2 separate regions of the Homo sapiens genome follow, and region 1 is linked to region 2. The links are contacts of gene promoters, found by promoter capture Hi-C in human tissues and cell types (Jung and others, 2019). All regions are on one chromosome and are shown on one strand. The core of a region is centred on a gene start or on the middle of the fragment in contact, and the rest is flanking DNA. Distances in the headings are between cores, read along the strand shown.

Region 1 (6,623 bases), core at 3,524-6,023, 1.3 Mb after region 2:
CCTACTTGCCTGTCACATTTACATCACACAATATCTTCACAAAAATCCTGCACTGTAATTTTGGCTCAGAGAAAATCAACGATTTTTTTCTGAAAGTCACATGACCACAAAGTGGCAAGGCCAGATTCAATTGCTGTTCAGCTGGCTCTACATCCGGTTTTCCTCTGTAACTAACTGCTGGAAAGGTAAAAGTGGTGAGTAAGGGAAAGGTTTGCTTTACTAAACACATCACGCTTCAGAATCAACTTTGTATACATGATACACAGCATGCCAATGGATGGGCTGAGTTTGTGACAAGAGGGAAAACACAAAACCACATCATCATTTATTTATTTCACCATTAAAAGAAAAATAAGAGGCTGTGAGGGAGGAGGTGATGGAAGGAATAATTAACAGAGAATCATTATTACTATCCAGAGTAATTGCCTTCCTGGAATTTCTCGTAACAAGGATGCAAGGTCATTTGTAATGGACAAACAGAGGCACACGTTCCTGGGAGTCACCCTCTCTTTGATAGCGAGGAAGGAAACCCTCGGCAGCTCTGGAGCCATGCCAGGGAAGCTTGCTGCACAGCTGGGTGCCAATATAAGGAGTGGCTTGGGCCCAGGGAAATCTATCTTGGTTCATCACAGTCACCACTTTGGCACAGGCCTCTTGACCCTTCATGTACTGGTGGGAGGACTCAAGTGGCAGGAAGATGCAGAAATGCAGGGGAACAGAGGGGAAAGTAGTGGGAGAACTCGGAGTAGAAAGCTGCATGCTTTCAGGACTGGCCTTTAGCTTCATCTCAACACTTCTGTTTTGTGGCAGCCACTCTGAGAATCTAGTTCAGCAGTATGAACTGCTTTCATAGGGCCCTTCACTACAGTTACTGAAACCTTTTTAACTTTTTATCTCAGATGTTGTTACAACAGAGTTTTCTCCACCCTTTGAATACCACCTAAGGGACTGATTGTCTTCTTTGGCCAATGGCAAGGCTCCAGTCCCCAGAGACATTACCTAACCCACTAACCTGTGGCCCATCTTACATCAGGAGGCCTAATACGAGGTGGGCGGAGCTTCTCCCACACAGTACCCTAACAGTGGACATTTTCCCCGACATCCAGAACCTTAATCCATAGTTCTAGTTATACGGTGAAAAGAGAAATCCCTCTCTGAATGTCCTTTCCAGCACCCAGTGAGGAATAGCACAGAGCCTTTGTTGTAACTAAGTTCCCCAGGCCCCTCTAAACCCAAGCAGGCTTCCTCAAGTCTCCTTTCTTCTCTGTAGTATGCGGCTGGGACTCGGCCCATCTTCTTCACCTCTTTCTATGTTCACCCACCGTATTCTTTAATTTCCATCCTGGTGGAAGAGGGAGTTAAAATCTCCCTACCTGCCTACTTCCTTGCTACTCCAAAGGGAGAACAAAGGCTTCACTCCTTACTGCTGCAGGGAAGAAGTCAATACACACATATACTCACACGCTTACACAGACACCAAACAATTTTAGTACCTTACAAAGCTCTTGTCTGAATGTCATTAGACTAATTTTCCACTCCCGTCTCAGATGGTAATTATAGGTCCTTGTTACGGTTTAGAATATTTTCCCACAAAACTCATAGCTCACTGCAGCCTTAAACTCCTGGACTCCAGGGATCCTCTCACCTCAGCCTCCTGAGTAGCTAGGAGTACAGGCATGCGCTACCACGCCCAGCTTGGGAACTTAAAAATAGTGTTGATACCTATGTCCCACTTCCAGAGATACTGATTTAATTGGTTGAGAACCAGCAACCTATGGAGAACAGTGGTTTTCAAACTTTAGTGCATATTAGAATCACCTGGGGAGCTTGTTAAACCAGATTGCTGAGTCCTATCTTAGAGTTTCTAATTTGGTAGGTCTGGGAAGTGAGGCCCTAGAATTGGCCTCACCAATTCTGGAATTTTCTAACACGTTTCCAGGTGATACTGATTCTGCTGTTGCAAGGAGGGGAAGGACACTTTGAGAAACACTGATGTTTCATATCAAGTTCCCACAGGAGAATCACAATGGAGTTTTCTACATCCTTGCTACTTAAAGAATGGTCCATGACCAGCAGCCCTGACAATACCTGGGATTTTATTAAACATGCAGAATCTCAGGCCCCAGACCAAACTCACTGAATTGAAATCTGCATTTTAACATGATCCCCACAGGATTCAAATGTACATTTCTGTTTGAGAACCACTGTTCTGGGTTTCTGAAGCAAATCCATGCTGTATTTAGTAGATAACTCTCCTCTTGAGTAAATGACAGTTCTCCATTGGAAGCTCTTCACTTGCTCTTGGGCCCTGGCAGAGATAAAAAAAACTTGACCATAGGTGAGCATATGACCTGAGCCTCCCATCATGAGCTGGGTGATGACTGACCTAACAAGACACAAAGTGAGTCACACCTGCCAGCTCTCTGCCCTCAAGCAGAAATAAGACTGAAATGACCAAGATGGGACATGTTCTGAAGACACAAGTAAATCACATAAGCAGGTGACTTATAGTCCCCAGTATGCCTGCTCTTGCCACTCTGCTATCCTCTTCCAGTCTTCACATATAGCCTTGTAGGGAATTCTCTGGTAAGCAATTGATTGAGGAAGTAAAATTATCAAGCTCAGTTACAAATGGCTGTGCATAAGTGGCTACAACCATTAGCATGGGTCATGGTGGCATTATAACCTACACAGTATGTCCCTGAGCAATTCTGGAGAAGGGAAAAACCGTTCAAGGGGTAGAACTTTCAGTATCTCATCTTGTTATCCACTTCTCCTGGAAGAGGAACACCAAGAATAGCTAAGCCACTCTTGATGAAGACAAGATGAGAGAACTTGCTTTATTAGATATCAAGGTTTATTATAAAGCTGAAGTAATTAAGACAGTATTAGGTGCAGGCATGGAAAAAACATACTAATAGGGGCCAAGGCGGACAGATCACTTGAGCTCAGGAGTTCAAGACCAGTCTAGGCAACATGGCAAAACCTCATCTCCATAAAAAATACAAAAGTTAGCTGGATGTGGTGGTGTGTGCCTGTAGTCCCAGCTACTTGGGAGGCTGAAGTGAGATGATGACTTGGGCCCAAAAAGTCGAGGCTGCAGTTAGCCAAGATCACACCACTGCACTCCAGCCTGGGCAACAGAGCAAGATTCTGTCTCTCTCTGTCTCTGTCTCTGCCTGTCTCTCTCTCTATATATATAATACATAATTACATTATATATTTATATATTATATATAAGTATACATAATATATATGAAATATAAATAAAATATATTTTAGACTTTATATATATTCTATTTACATAAAATTATATATATGTTATATATTACAGACTATATATCTTTTATATCTTCTATATATATCTACATCTTTATATATGTATATGTATGTGTATACATGTATATATACACATACACAGTATGTATATGTATATGTATATATCTCAATAGAAATAAATAGTGAATCCAGAAGTAAACTTACCCAGTATGGATACTAATATATGGTAGAGGTGGCAGATTGGATAGGAAAGGAGTTTTCAATAAATAGTGCTTTAAAAATTGATATCCAAGTAGGAAAAAAATTATGTTAGATTTTTACCTCACCACATGCACAAAAATCAATTTCAGTTGTGTTAAAGTACTAAATGCTGAAAGACAATACTATACTGAGTATAGGAAATAATATATGAAACTATCTTTACTGCTTCAAATTAGAAAACAAGACATATAAAACACTAACCACAAAATGTTTGAAGAATTTAGCTACATTAGTGTAAAAATAACTCATCAAAAGACATCATAAAGTGAATTAAAAAACAAGCCACAGAATGGGAAAATATATTTATAGGGCATAAAGACAAATAAGATCCAGATACATAGAAAATACCTTTAAATTGTTAAGAAAAGACAGGTGACCCAATAGGAAGGTGGACAAATTATTGAAAAGGCACTTCACAAAGGAGGATATCCAAGTGGCTAAAAAACAAACAAATAAAAAGCTACAACCTTTTGGTAATCAGGGTAAAGAAAATTAAAACCAAATGAAATACCACTATATACCCATCAGATTTGCAAATATTAAAAGGTCTGACGTTAACAAGTGTTAATGAGGATGTGGAGCAAGTAGAATTCTCATCAATTGATGATAATAGTATATATTGGTAGAACTACTTTGGAAAATAGTTGAAAATTATCTAACAAAATTGAATATGTACTTGATCTATAACCCAGAAAATGCACTTTTGGGATTGATACCTGAAATATATATACACGTGTACATCAGGTTTTATGTATAAAAATATTCATTGCTTCCTTATTCAGAATAACTAAAATAGGAAACAACCCAGATGTCCATCAATAGAACAGTAAAAACTGAATTATGATTTATTAATTAGTAAAACACTACACAGCATCAAAAATAAACTCAGCCACATGCAACAATACAGAGAATCTTAAAGACATAGTATTGAGCAAAATAATCAGTACACACAAAATTCCACTTATACAAAGCTCAAAAACAAAATTAAGCAATATTTTTAGAAATGCACTTATAAATGATGACTGACCCACTATCAAGGAAAGTATTTAACATTGCTCTGAAAGTTCTGGAAATTCTTGATTTTCCTTTCTCAATTTCTACACCCATCACCACGCCCAGTCTTCCCCAACTCACTAAACAGCACCGTCATCCATTTAGCATTTCAAGCCAGTGAGAAGTCATCCTTAATTCTGCTTTTTCATTAATTTCCCTACTTCTAATCTATTACGTGTCTTATTAGATCTAAGATCAATATATTTCCTGAATATGTCTATTTATGTCCATTTCCAACACTACCACTGAAGTCTAAGCCATTGTCACCTTTCTTTCTGGATTACTGCAATAGCCTCACAGCTTCCACTCTTGACCACATACACTCCATTCTGCACTCAGCCCTCATAGTGATCATTATAAAGGATAAAATGGTGTGGCCAGTTAGCTCAGTTGGTTAGATCATGGTACTAATAAAATGCAAAACATGTCACATCACTCTTCTTCATGGGTTCATGTCCTCTGTGGGTCAGGTCTTCCACATGTAGAGTAGAGGTAGGGTATGTTCACACCTTCAATGACAACTACACATTTCTGCTCCAACAGGTCCAAAATTGTTCCTAGGTTTCAAAGTTGTTGTTTGTTTGTTTTTTTCCTTTTTCTTTTTTTTTTTTTTTTGAGATGAAGTTTTGCTCTTGTTGCCCCGGCTGGAGTGCAATGGCGTGATCTCGGCTCACCACAACCTCTGTCTCCCGGTTTCAAGCGATTATCCTGCCTCAGCCTCCGAGTAGCTGGGATTATAGGCATGCGCCACCATGCCCAGCTAATTTTTGTATTTTTAGTAGAGACGGGGTTTCACCATGTTGGTCAGGCTGGTCTTGAGCTCCTGACCTCAGGTGATCCACCTGCCTTGGCCTCCCAAAGTGCTGGGATTACAGGCGCGAGCCACCATGCCCGGCCACAGGTTTCAAAGTTTTTAACGTATAAAGAGTTGCTGATTTTAACATCATATTTTGGTCACGTTTAAGATGTTCTACAGATATTTTTGCTTCAAAGCTTCAAACTCCAGCTATGCCTGGGTCTCATTCTATCCCCAGAAATTGACAATGCTTCCCTACCCTTAGGGCTGCCCCGTCCCCGTCCCACTCGGTCCCATTTAATAAATATACCTCACCTCCCTTCGCCACCTGCTGGACGCGAGGGGCTACTACGATGCCATGGGTGTCCTGATTTTTTATTTCTCAGACAGGACTGCTCTGTGTGTGTCTTTGGATTCTACGTAGATTTATATTTGTAAAATATTACATTTGTCATGACCAGAAGAAATGTCATTATCGTAAAATTTAGATTCTGGAGTCTATATATGAAAGCAATACTAACTACTAACTGTTATAACAACAAAATGTGGGATGTATATCTACAGACCACAGCCACCTTGCCAGTTCATTCAAGAATCGAACCCTGGATTTAGCAGTTTCTGCACAAAGGGAATGAAATATTTTTAATTGATAATTCAGTCAAAAATATTAATGAAGATCCATATGATTGAAAGAATAAATTTATTCAATTGGCTCCAATGTAATCCTATTGTCACCAGATCATTGACACCAAATTGTTATTTTTCCCTTTGCTAGTAAAGGTATAAGCAGAAACAATTGCAAAAGAACACATAACATCTAGTAGGGATAATGATGAAAGCCAAAAATGGATTATTTGAAAATAATTTTGGAAGTAAAAAAACCATAGGTGTGAGGAAAAAAGAGAGAAACTACAAATAAACTGCATTGTGATAAAACAATAAAGCACATAGCTAAAAGCCTATTAAGGATTTTTTAAAAATTATATTTTGAGAAACACTTGGTGCTAATAATTTTCTCAAAAGTACAAATATCCAAAAGTCATACAGAAAATAAAACAACCTACTTTCCATCAAAAGTTTCTAATTTTATTCTGAGAAAAGATAACACCAAGAAAACAATTTTAACTACAGAAACAATGGTTAGCGTAAAAAATTAATAATCAAAAAGATAAACCATGTTATAAGTACTTAACAAACTTATAAACTATTTCTTCCATAACATTCTCCATATTTT
Region 2 (7,451 bases), core at 4,207-6,706:
ACTGGACACCTTCCTTACACCATGAAGTCAGTCTTGAATTAGAATTCTGGTCTATTGACTTCCTAGTTATATGAACAAGAACCAGTACTTTAATTTTCATGAGCCTTAGTTTTTCTCATTTATAAATGGAGTTATAGTATCTCTCAGGATTGTTTGTGGATTAAGAGGGATAATATTTGAGAAGTGCTGTGGCATAACAGTAATTTTTTAATTGCAACCGATGGAAACAGAAATGAAGATGTTGATGATGATGTCAACTTGAAATTAAATGTCTATTTAAGGGTAAATGTGTAAAAAAAAAAGACACTCCAAAGAAGTGTCCTATACCACTGGAATATAGTATGAATATTAAATTCCTGCTTCACAATTTAAGATATGTCTATGTCTAGCAGAGTAGTTAAAGTTTACATCATTTAGTAATAGCTGATTTGACTAAGGACTGCATGTTATGAATCAAATTCCATGTTACTGAAGGGCTACAGAGTGAATGGAATGGTTTCAGTTTAAATATTACATGTTTCTTTTATGCTGAATGTAAAATATCCACAGTAGTACAAAGAAGATATTGTCTGATGAAGACAACTTTTTAAAACTAAACTTTTAAAAATAAAAGTTTTCTATTTTTGTCCTCTTTAATGACACCTCATGACAGTTCTCCATTCAAATTCTGTTTATCTAACAAATATATATTTCTGCTTTTCTCATGAGTAGTGAGGAACTTAGCCTTGGAAGGAACAGATAGAGATAGAAGTATGTTCCAATGAAGGCTGGGCGCAGTGGCTCATGCCTGTGATCTCAGCACTTTGTGAGGCTGGGGCGGGCGGATCACAAGGTCAGGAGATTGAGACCGTCCTGGCTAACACAGTCAAACTCCGTCTCTACTAAAACTACAAAAAATTAGTTGGGCGGGGTGGCGTGCGCCTGTAATCCCAGCTATTCAGGATGGTGAGGCAGGAGAATCACTTGAACCTGGGAGGTGGAGGTTGCAGTGAGCTGAGATCGTGCCACTGCACTCCAGCCTGGGTGACAGAGCGAGACTAGGTCTTAAAAAAAAAAAAAATTGAGGCAATAATTAATAGCTTACCAACCAAAAAAAGTCCAGGACCAGATGGATTCACAGCCGAATTCTACCACAGGTACAAGGAGGAGCTGGTACCATTCCTTCTGAAACTATTCCAATCAACAGAAAAAGAGGGAATCTTCCCTAACTCATTTTATGAGGCCACCATCATCCTGATACCAAAGCCTGGCAGAGACATAACAAAAAAAGAGAATTTTAGACCAATATCCTTGATGAACATTGATGCAAAAATCCTCAATAAAATACTGGCAAACCGAATCCAGCAGCACATCAAAAAGCTTATCTACCATGATCAAGTAGGCTTCATCCCTGGGATGCAAGGCTGGTTCAACATATGAAAATCAATAAACACAATCCAGCACATCAACAGAACCAAAGTCAAAAACCACATGATTATCTCAATAGATGCAGAAAAGGCCTTTGACAAAATTCAACAACCCTTCATGCTAAAAACTCTCAATAAATTAGGTATTGATTGGACGTATCTCAAAATAATAAGAGCTATCTATGACAAACCCACAGCCAATATCATACTGAATGGACAAAAACTGGAAGCATTCCCTTTGAAAACTGGCACAAGACAGGGATGCCCTCTCTCACCACTCCTATTCAACATGGTGTTGGAAGTTCTGACCAGGGCAATCAGGCAGGAGAAGGAAATAAAGGGTATTCAATTAGGAAAAGAGGAAGTCAAATTGTCCCTGTTTGCAGATGACATGATTGTATGTCTAGAAAACCCCATCATCTCAGCCCAAAATCTCCTTAAGCTGATAAGCAACTTCAGCAAAGTCTCAGGATACAAAATCAATGTGCAAAAATCACAAGCATTCTTATACACCAATAACAGACAAACAGAGAGCCAAATCATGAGTGAACTCCCATTCACAATTGCTTCAAAGAGAATAAAATACCTAGGAATCCAACTTACAAGGGACCTGAAGGACCTCTTCAAGGAGAACTACAAACCACTGCTCAATGAAATAAAAGAGGATACAAAGAAATGGAAGAACATTCCATGCTCATGGGTAGGAAGAATCAATATCGTGAAAATGGCCATATTGCCCAACGTAATTTATAGATTCAATGCCATCCCCATCAAGCTACCAACGACTTTCTTCACAGAATTGGAAAAAACTACTTTAAAGTTCATGTGGAACCAAAAAAGAGCCCGCATTGCCAAGTCAATCCTAAGCCAAAAGAACAAAGCTGGAGGCATCATGCTACCTGACTTCAAACTATACTACAAGGCTACAGTAACCAAAACAGCATGGTACTGGTACCAAAGCAGAGATATAGACCAATGGAACTGAACAGAGCCCTCAGAAATAATGCCGCATATCTACAACTATCTGATCTTTGACAAACCTGAGAAAAACAAGCAATGGGGAAAGGATTCCCTATTTAATAAATGGTGCCAGGAAAACTGGCTAGCCATATGTAGAAAGCTGAAACTGGATCCCTTCCTTACACCTTATACAAAAATTAATTCAAGATGGATTAAAGACTTATGTGTTAGACCTAAAACCATAAAAACCCTAGAAGAAAACCTAGGCAATAACATTCAAGACATAGGTGTGGGCAAGGACTTCATGTCTAAAACACCAAAAGCAATGGCAACAAAAGCCAAAATTGACAAATGGGATCTAATTAAACTAAAGAGCTTCTGCACAGCAAAAGAAACTACCATCACAGTGAACAGGCAACCTACAGAATGGGAGAAAATTTTTGCAACCTACCCATCTGACAAAGGGCTAATATCCAGAATCTAAATGAACTCAAACAAATTTACAAGAAAAAAACAAATAACCCCATAAAAAGTGGGCAAAGGATATGAACAGACACTTCTCGAAAGAAGACATTTATGCAGCCAAAAAGCACATGAAAAAATGCTCATCGTCATTGGCCATCAGAGAAACGCAAATCAAAACCACTATGAGATACCATCTCACACCAGTTAGAATGGCAATCATTAAAAAGTCAGGAAACAACAGGTGCTGGAGAGGATGTGGAGAAATAGGAACACTTTTACACTGTTGGTGGGACTGTAAACTAGTTTAACCATTGTGGAAGTCAGTGTGGCGATTCCTCAGGGATCTAGAACTAGAAATACCATTTGACCCAGCCATCCCATTACTGGGTATATACCCAAAGGACTATAAATTATGCTGCTATAGAGACACATGCACTGGTACGTTTATTGCGGCACTATTCACAATAGTAAAGACTTGGAACCAACCCAAATGTCCAACAATGATAGACTGGATTAAGAAAATGTGGCACATATACACCATGGAATACTATGCAGCCATAAAAATTGATGAGTTCATGTCCTTTGTAGGGACATGGATGAAGCTGGAAACCATCATTCTCAGCAAACTATCACAAGGACGAAGAAACAAACACCGCATGTTCTCACTCATAGGTGGGAATTGAACAATGAGATCACATGGACACAGGAAGGGGAACATCACACTCTGGGGACTGTTGTGGGGTGGGGTGAGGGGGGAGAGATAGCATTAGGAGATATGCCTAATGCTAAATAACGAGTTCATGGGTGCAGCACACCAGCATGGCACATGTATACATATGTAACAAACCTGCACGTTGTGAACATGTACCCTAAAACTTAAAGTATAATAATAATAAAATTTAAAAAAAGAAATAAAAGAAATTATAAAACAAACAAAAAATCTGAGTGTATTTGTCCCCATTTCCAAGCTAACAGGATTGGTGAAAATAAAATGGACTAAAGTAGGCTATCCTATAGGGAACTAAATTGCAAATAAATCCAGTATTGAGATGTTTGCCTTGATTTTGCCTATTTCTATCCATAGCTCAGTTTGAAACGACCATATTCGTGAAATGCCAGAGTTTGTTTAGATTACTGAAGGTATATTATTTGAGACCTCAAATCCAAATGACTTCCAAATTAGGATACCCAGAATATTTTTGGTCCTGACTGTTGCAGTATTATGCTCACCTTAATTTAATCTTCATAATTGAAAATAAGCAGAATCCACAATAAGTTTTTTTTTTTTTTTTGGAGACAGAGACTCACCCTGTTGCCCAGGTTGGAGCGCAGTGGCGTGATCTTAGCTCACTGCGACCTCCGCCTCCTGGGTTCCAGCAATTATCCTGTCTCAGCCTCCCGAGTAGCTGGGATTACAGGCGTATGACACCATGCTCAGCTAATTTTTGTAGTTTTAGCAGAGACGGGGTTTCACCATATTGGCCAGGCTGGTCTTGAACTCTTGAACTCAGGTAATACACCTGCCTTGGCCTCCCAAAGTGCTGGGATTACAGGCGTGAGCCACTGTGCCTGGCCAGGATTGGATATTTTAAAGGTTGGATCACTTGAAAATGGGGGAACAATGATCTGTGTGAGATCTATTTGGTTTCTATTATTAAACTTCTTGAAACTCAGAGCCAGGTGCAGTAGTGGTGAGTACCTGTAGTTCCAGCTACTCAGGAGGCTCAAGTGGGAGGATCACTTGAGCCCAGGAGTTCAACTCCAGCCTGGGCAACATAACAAGACTCCATTAAAAGAAAAAAAAAAAAAAAACTTTTTGAAACTCAGCTGCTACACATTGACTTTCCTCATTGTATATGTGCACCAGGTAGCTAAGGATACTTCAGGTCTTATATTTGGTTTTTCATAGGCAATCATGCATTCCCAAAAAAAAAGCGTTTTTTTCTAGAACTGGTATCGATAATTGTATCATTCTCATAAAATATTTTATTTATCCCAACTGATTTGCCTGTGATCACCCAGACTCACTTATCCAGAGACACACAAATGGGCAGGCAGGTAGACAAACGCTACACCTGCCTGCCCTTTAGGAGCTAACAATGTGATTACCTCTCCTCTCCACGCGCAACCCCTTCCGCCCTCAACACACACATTCATATCTTCCTTATTCTATTAATGAACATTTCCTCGGTGCTCACACAGCTCGTGCTAGGTTGCTCAGTGGTGTCATTTACAATATACTGAAAAATGAAAATGATATCCTCAGCGGGGCGTAATGTAGGGCTGAAAGGGAAAACACATTCCTGGCCCGGAATTTCTTAAACATTTAGAGCTGGTGAAATGGTTGTGTAGAGGTTGGGGAATTTCCCCAGCCTTCCCCGCTTAACCGAGTCTGATGCTGAGCTGAGCCAGGGCAGCTGAGATGCGCAGGGCTTGGGATTTACCTCTTCAGCCACTGGGAGGCCCTCTGCGTTCCCCTTTCCCCGGTGCCTGGCTGCGATTACTCACTCGCGCAGTGGCACCAGCCTTCCACCAGGGAGCCTCGAACGAGCTCTCCCGCCCTCTCCCCGCCCCCCCACCCCCATCTGCAGCTTGCTGGCTCTCTCTTTCTCCTTCTCTGTCTCACTCTCTCTCTTTCTCTCCCTCTCCTATCGGAGCACAATGAAAGCCTGTGTATCGCCGTGACTCCGGGCGCGAGCCAGTGTCAGCAAAGCGGCTAACAACAGACGAGAAAGAGAAAGGAAAATACAAGCTACTTTTTTTTTCCATCTATAAAGCGGAGCAAATACAGGAGATAGAACCAGATTGCTTATTGCGAGTCCAGACCCTCAGATCCACTGGCCGGGGATGGAATGTACAAAAGTGGACAGAAAAGTGGCTGGACATGACTCGGTGCAATTTGCTGGAAGTTTGTAAGTTTGACCATCGTTTGTAAATTACTCTCGGAAGAGTTTGTCTCTCTTGATACTGTATTAGAATAGAGCCGGGGGTGAGGAATAGAAACGTAAGCGGGAAAGAAAAAAATGTGTTGAAGGATCTCTCTCAGTGGCTAGCGACTTAAGATTGCTTTTCATTTAAGGCTAGGAAACCTTAGAGGGAGTGAGGATTTTACCGGTGATTGGATTAGCTGAAGAAAAAAGCATGGTCCAAAAGTCCAATTACTGACATTGTTAACAGTTGAAAAGCTGTCTCCCTCTTTTGGGAGAAGACAACATCCTACAGTACCCCAAAGAGGAGAAAACACCGGAGCGAAAGGAAAGGGAGGAAAAATTAAAAGCCAAAAGACAGTCTCCCTTGATTTTTGCACATTTTGAACAGTGACTTAAACATCTTCTGAAACAGCACTGTTTTGTTTTGTTTTGGTTTTTTATTTAACCTGAGGAAAAGTCAAGGCTGCTGGTTACATAGACATGGTAGAAATGTGTTTCTCTGCAGAAACATCCCCATAAAGAATTGTCGGAAACAACTAGGTGAGGGGGAGTCCTCTCTATTAATACCTCTCTCAATACCTTTTGCTGTGTGTTTCTGTCTCTTGCTGGACAATCCCTGAATTCTTGATCTAACCCCCAGATCGTGTGTTTACAAAGTACCTAGTGGCTCTTGTCAGCTTGGTGGAGGAAAAAAAATCCACCAACTCTGTCCAACTTCTCCAGAGCTGTCAAATGCAATTAGAGTAAGTTAATCAGGGTTTGTTTCCAACTTATCCTCCCCCCAGTTGGTTTCTATTCTTTCTCCCCACCCTCTTTTTACTAACTCCCCTCCCCCACAACTTCTCCACGGCTCCCCCACAACCTCTGAAGACCTCTATTCATGTGGCCCTGAACACTGAGCTCACATTGTCAAAAACAGACTTGCCTGCAATAGCCAGCAGTAGCCTCTTTCCACCTCACCATCCCAGAGGCAGCAATCATTGTGTCCGGTAAGATGGGGGACACAGCGCCCCCGCAGGCCCCCGCAGGAGGGCTAGGGGGGGCCTCTGGGGCGGGGCTCCTTGGAGGGGGCTCAGTCACCCCGAGAGTGCACAGTGCTATCGTGGAGCGCCTCCGGGCTCGGATCGCTGTCTGCCGCCAACACCACCTGAGCTGTGAAGGACGATATGAACGAGGTAGGGCCGAGAGCTCAGACCGGGAAAGAGAAAGCACCTTGCAGCTCCTGAGCCTTGTACAGCATGGCCAGGGGGCAAGGAAAGCTGGCAAACACACCAAGGCCACCGCCACTGCTGCCACCACTACAGCCCCTCCACCGCCCCCTGCTGCCCCTCCTGCGGCCTCCCAAGCAGCAGCAACAGCAGCCCCACCGCCCCCACCAGACTATCACCATCACCACCAGCAGCACCTGCTGAACAGTAGCAATAATGGTGGCAGTGGTGGGATAAACGGAGAGCAGCAGCCGCCCGCTTCAACCCCAGGGGACCAGAGGAACTCAGCCCTGATTGCGGTAAGCACCTGGCTTTCTCATGGTTCTGGCTGTGGTCCTGTGACCTTTTGTGAGGGTAGAGTTTGCTTTGGCCTAAGGTAGAGTGGATGGCAATGAAAAAGGCCAAGATGTCACCTGACTACCTTAAAGGCCATTGGGTGTGTTCGGGTGGTTTCATGCGCCTACTCATCATGTTCTGTTGGT

Evidence for each region. Contacts are between HindIII fragments. The study calls those that stand out against the background at their distance.
Region 1: a contact is called between a fragment that was not itself captured here and the fragment with the promoter of MAML2 in region 2, in 1 of the 25 tissues and cell types used here (dorsolateral prefrontal cortex).

What each region holds. Positions count from the first base shown.
Region 1 is chr11:95,068,954-95,075,576 of GRCh38, reverse strand. SRSF8 (serine and arginine rich splicing factor 8) reads right to left here. Exons shown (of 1, transcript NM_032102.4): 1 at 4,352-6,623. Among named protein-coding and RNA genes, the nearest start is that of SRSF8, 5.3 kb to the right of the region's middle. RefSeq lists a silencer at 5,684-5,743. The HindIII fragment of the contact is 3,397 bases long and covers 3,075-6,471 here.
Region 2 is chr11:96,341,200-96,348,650 of GRCh38, reverse strand. MAML2 (mastermind like transcriptional coactivator 2) reads left to right here and starts at 5,456. Exons shown (of 5, transcript NM_032427.4): 1 at 5,456-7,268. The coding sequence starts at 6,756. MIR1260B (microRNA 1260b) reads right to left here and starts at 7,213; the gene lies at 7,125-7,213. RefSeq lists silencers at 5,273-5,462, 6,580-6,839. The HindIII fragment of the contact is 9,356 bases long and covers 340-7,451 here.